2 separate regions of the Homo sapiens genome follow, and region 1 is linked to region 2. Evidence: promoter capture Hi-C in 16 types of primary human blood cells and fetal thymus (Javierre and others, 2016). All regions are on one chromosome and are shown on one strand. Each heading gives the region's core, a stretch centred on a gene start or on the middle of the fragment in contact. The rest is flanking DNA. Distances are from core to core; before and after follow the strand shown.

Evidence for each region. Contacts are between HindIII fragments. The CHiCAGO score rates a contact against its expected background, and 5 or more counts as called.
Region 1: a contact is called between the fragment with the promoter of MOB4 here and the fragment with the promoter of BOLL in region 2, in 4 of 17 cell types (megakaryocytes, erythroblasts, activated CD4 T cells and 1 more). The highest score is 7.6, in megakaryocytes.

What each region holds. Positions count from the first base shown.
Region 1 is chr2:197,514,647-197,517,363 of GRCh38, forward strand. It overlaps MOB4 (MOB family member 4, phocein), which reads left to right and starts at 1,420. Exons shown (of 8, transcript NM_015387.5): 1 at 1,420-1,500. The coding sequence starts at 1,441. The region is part of intron 2 of HSPE1-MOB4 (HSPE1-MOB4 readthrough); the gene reads left to right. RefSeq lists a silencer at 1,259-1,478. The HindIII fragment of the contact is 18,120 bases long and covers 1-2,717 here.
Region 2 is chr2:197,784,058-197,786,757 of GRCh38, forward strand. BOLL (boule RNA binding protein) reads right to left here and starts at 1,262. Exons shown (of 11, transcript NM_033030.6): 1 at 999-1,262. RefSeq lists an enhancer at 2,438-2,667. The HindIII fragment of the contact is 5,410 bases long and covers 1-2,700 here.

The DNA of each region.
Region 1 (2,717 bases), core at 170-2,669, 270 kb before region 2:
TATATGCAAATATTCTAAAATCCAAAATAATCAGAAATCTGAAAGTGTTTTGGTCCCAAACTTTAAGATGAGGGGTACTTAACCTGTATAAGAATTTGTGATTTGCACGTCTCTGTTGCTGGAGTCAAGGCAATTTGTAGTGAAGGACTGAGCCTTATCATACTTGTACATTAGTGCCTACCATATAGTGGGGCTTAATGAGTATCTGTTGAACGAATAATCTTTTCATATGTAGACGCTGGTTCTGGGAGGGCAAAATTAAGTCCCTATTCTTGAAGAGTTACCAGTCAATACATCTTCCAGAGAGAACCAACTTCCTGTTGTTAAACCCTTCAATGCCTAGTTCTAAGTCACTGACAATTACTCAGCTAGAGACCCACTCAACCTCTCCTCTCCTCTCAAATTCCATTTCTGGAAGCTGTTACATGGCCCTTCCCTCAGCATTCTCAATACACCTTCTATCTAGGGACACTTGATGTTTTCTTCTTTTGGAAATCATGCTACTGTATGCGTTTTTTACTTTTTGAACTGTCTTCCCATCTGCTATCCCAAGGCCTCCCTCACCCCAGATAAAAGATTCAAGGTTTCTAAGCAGGAAAAAAAGTTTGCGAAAATGCTGTGGTTTCTTAAGAGAGAACACTTAAAATTTGCAACAAAGGAAATGTGGAATCCTGTAAGATGTAAAACCCTCACCACCTGTCAAGGACTACTAATTTCCTCCTCCTGCTTCTGACTTGAAAAACACGAGCTAAATCTGTCTGCCTAACGCACAAAACCAGATGTCCACTCTTCATCTCACATAATTGACATCTGCGTCTTTTATCTACGTAAACAAACTTGTCATTGAAAAAGTCCTTGGCTTTGAAGTCGCCGGATGGCGTAAATAACACTGACACTCAAATCCCCCGTCTGATTTCAGATTGGGTCGATTTCACGCAGGTTCTATAGAATTTGCCAAGACTGCTGGCCTGTTTTCTACCCTGATTCCTTAGGTGGCTTCTGGGACAGAATTACGGTTCTCTAAGTATTTGCTTGCAGGTGGGTTTACTGAAACGGTCGCCACTATACGAAGTTCGTTCTTCCCGTGTAACTAACGAGAGCCCATACCAACGTGCAACGCAGCCGTGCACACTGCCGCAGCGGTCGCTGCGATCACGACCTTTCAAACCGCCCCGCAGCCCTCGCAAAGAGGCTCGTGGCGCCCGCCTTCCGGTGCCTCAGTCCCTGCCAGTAGCCACCCGACGCCGTCCGGCTGTTCCTCGTTCGCCCTCTCCCTCCGCCTAGCCCGCTTCTACCCGGACGGCTCCCGGCGCAGGCTGCAGCTGTTCCGTCAGCTGCCGCTCCTCCTCCCAGACGCAGAGCGCCGCTCTGCCCCGCCCCCCGCGCAGGCTGCCGTCCCTACATCCGGGTACCGACTCCAGCCGCCTAGACGCTGGCACTATGGTCATGGCGGAGGGGACGGCAGTGCTGAGGCGGAACAGGCCGGGCACCAAGGCGCAGGTACCATGTCTGCACTTTTCTTGTCGGGCAACTAGGTGCCGAGCAGTGCTGCGCCCGGAAGCTGGCCGCCACTGCGGGGAGGTTGGGCCGAGGCGGCAGGCGGGCGGGCTGGGGCACTGGTGCCCGGCCTGCTCTTCCGGAGCTGCAGCCCCTCAATTTGGCTGAGGCGGTGGCGGCCGCCGTGAGGCCTGCGGAGCTCCGACCCAGGGGTAGGCGTGAGGGGCGGGTGGGGTCTGCTGGTGGTACCTGCCTGCCGAAGCCCTGGGCTGCGAGCCTGTCAGCAGCAACGGCTTCTTCTCGCCTTGCCCCTGAGCCCCAGCTGACTAGCATTGGAGGGGCGCGACCAGCCTGGTGGAGACCCCCGGGGTTTCCTGAAGGTCGGGGCCGCTGAGGTGGGAGGGGGTGTAAACACAGCCTACCTCGACCCGGCGTCCAGTTCCTACCTGGCCTGGGAAGTACCTACCCGTTTCCTGCCATCCAGCTTGTCTAGCCGGATCCGGGTGCCGATATTCTCCTCCTTGTTTCCCTTTGACCACCTCTCCCTGCCGCTTTCCCTGGAGCTGTTCTCTGGTCCAGCAAGTTTTCATCACTAAGTTGTGACTTGTTAGATGTCATTCCTTGCTAATATGCGTGAAGCATAGTCAGAGAATGAACTGATTATAATTTTGTCAGCTTTTTTGTAGGGCATTATGTGTGGTAAATTGGTGCTTGATTAGGCATTGTTTCTTAGGGTTTGGAAAAGATGGGATGCCTCACATTAAAAATAAATAAATAAAATTGGCATCCAGACTTGAACTGATTAATTGCTAGCCGAAATGGCTTGCTATAGACTAGATGCTCTGAAATCGGAAGAGATGTGTTTATAAAATGTTAAAAAGTGATGCAAATGAAAATTGAAACAAAACAATCGTGGAGCTATGATTGTATGTCTGAGAATAGATTTTAATTTCTTATACAGAATTATGGAAAGAACACCTTTCGAAGGGGGCATACAGGTATTGATTACCTCCCCAGATTCATGTTACAGATAAGGAAACTGAAGCCCAAGAGAATTAAGTGGATTTGCCCAAGGATACATAGTCTCCTGATTCTTAATTCACTGGTGACCTGTTCTCTTTAACAAGCTGCTTCTAGTGCTGAATTTCAGAGAAAATTTTAAAGTCTTATTTTGGAGTCACATTAAGCTGTCAGTTATTCCTACTGACAGTTTTGTTTTC
Region 2 (2,700 bases), core at 12-2,511:
AAACAACCTTTCACACTCAATTCACTTCATTCTCCTCCACTCTCTAAGGCTCTATTGTGGGCTCGCTCTGCTTAAGTTTTCTCCCTCATCATTTTCTAACATACGATATAGTTTACTTAGTATGTTTATTATCTGTCTCCACTATTATGTAATGCACCAGGGCAGAAGTTTTGCTTTTTTCATGGCAGCATCTAAAGTACTGACAGTACACAGCAGGTGCTCAATAAATATCTGTTGAATGACTAAAAGTGAATCATTTCTTCAGGAGAGACCTGCTCATGATATGCCAAATAGGCTGAAGGCTAAAGAATACAGTATAACAGCAGTCTAATACATATATATATATATATATATATATATATATATATATATATATATATATATATATATATTTGAGACAGTCTTGCTCTGTCGCCAGGCTGGAGTGCAGTGGCGTGATTTCGGCTCACTGCAACCTCCGCCTCCCTGGTTCAAGAGATTCTCCTGCCTCAGCCTCCTGAGTAGCTGAGACTACAGGTGCGCACCACCACGCCCAGCTAATTTTTTTGTATTAGTAGAGATGGGTTTTCACCATTTTGGCCAGGATGGTCTCGATCTCCTGACCTCGTGATCCGCCCACCTTGGCCTCCCAAAGTGCTGGGATTACAGGCGGGAGCCATCGCGCCAGGCCTACAAAATATTTTAATGTTAGCAATAGCAAGGCTCAGGTGGAGGCAACATCTAAGTTCATTATAAACAATTAGCGATGCATTGAGTTAAACAACAAAGAAAGCCTGAAATTCCACTAGCAATAATTCCGCATGTGTTACGGAAACACCTAGATGGGGACTGTTGCCGGGTTTGAAGGCTCCTCCGTTTGCTAAAACTTCCAGCACTAGAGAGTTTATTAAACTACTCCTCCAAAGCAATGTGCCCTCACTGGCCCCTCCCCTTGAGAATCAACCTCGAGATCTAGCATCTATTTTGCAAACGAAGACAGCAGGAACGGGCGGGCTAACCGTCGCAGTCACTGCCTCGGCGCTCCTCCCCCTCCAAGGCCAGCAAGTTGCGGCACTGGGGGAAATGGCCGCGGCGACAACTTCCTCGAGTTCTCTCGGGTCATCGTGAACTTGGGCACCGAAACGAGGATCCACCCCCTCCCCACCAAAGTGCGGGAGGGAAAAGAAGGCTAGCCAGCGAGAAATTTTGCCCCACAAATCCGCCAGCAGCAGTGGCGGGAAGCCTCAACGGCAGCGACCCCGCCGCTGGCCTCGTGCGCAGCTGGTCCCCACCCTCGCGCGGCGCTCCCTGATTGGCTGCTGGCGGCGGGACGGGGCGGGGCGGGATGGCACGTTGCCGCTGCGCCTCGGGCCTGTGCGGGCAGTCCTCCTTCACTTCCCCAAGTCCACCCTGACTGGCTTGGGTGCACAGCCAGGGCTAGAGTGTCCGGGTCCCGCCTGGGCCACAGGCGGGCCCTGCCAGGTCTCTCAGACCTTCCGGTCCTCGCTGACCAGTCGGGGAGTGGAGGCGTCGACCGCCCTGGCAACTCCTCGCCTTGGGCGGCTGGGTCGAGTTCGGCCGCAGGGAGCGTCAAAGACGCTGCCTAGCCCAATTTCGGCGGGAAAGCGGTTTACCTGCTCGGACTTCGCTGGGTGCCTGGCAGCCCGCCGCCTCCCGAAACATCCACGCCTGAGGTCCCCTGGCCCGTCTACACCCAGTCCAGGCCCCGTGGCGGCGCCTTTCTGACCCCCATGACACAGCCAGACGAGGTCTGCGGGCGGGTGGCTCCTGGCAGCGGTCGATGGGGCACCTGGCCACGTTTCTTCCCAACCAGATAGCGAGCGTTTGGGGCCTTCACCTCGCCCCTCCAAGCCCTCAGGGACAGGCTCCACGCTGCTCCTTCTCCCCGCTATCCCGCGCCCTGGGGCCCTGATCGCCGTACTCACCGGCCCGGACTCGGTTTCCATCTTCCTCTCTGCTCTTCAGAGACGCGGGGTAGGGAAAAGAAGCCTAAAGTTTGAAACCACCTTCACGCCAAGGCAGCAGCGCTGCTTGTCCTGCCTGGGACTCTCGCCCCCTGGCGGCGAGGGTGGCTGTGGCAGCTGCAGGGAAGCAGGCTCGGACCCCGGCCCTGAACCTGCCACCTGGCGGGTGGGGAGAAGCGGACTGCGTCGCCTCGGGTGGCAGGTGGCGGTGCGGGCGGGCGCTGCAAGCCGGAGAGGGGCGCGGGAGGGCGAGTTTCGGCTGTGGCCCTGGGACTCCGAGCCGGGGCGTCTCAGGGGCAGAGCGCACGGCACAGCGGGGCGGGCGTGGGGCGTGCGGAGCGAGGGCTCGGTTCTGGGACCCCTCTCGCCTTCTCTCAGACGGCTGGGGAGGAGAGAGCGAGCGGTCAGGCAAAGCTCCATGCACGCCTTCCCCTCTCCTCCACTTGAGAAGAGTCGGCCTCTGGGACTGGTGGGTTTCGAGAGGTTGAGGTGACCTTAAGGCTTTACTGAGGTAGAAGAAGCCGGTTGACGGGCGACTTCCGAAGACTGGTGTAAAGCGAAGAAGGTTCTAGAGTCAAACTCTGACTCTCGGGGCCTGACTCGCAAAACTCGGGGGCTCCCGAGAAGCCGCGGACGCCGCTCTGCACCTGTTGCCGCCGTCACTCATCCCGCCAGGCGGGCGGGGCCGCGCGGGTGGCTTGGTCAGGACCTGCCATTCAGCCCAGTCGGGCTCCGG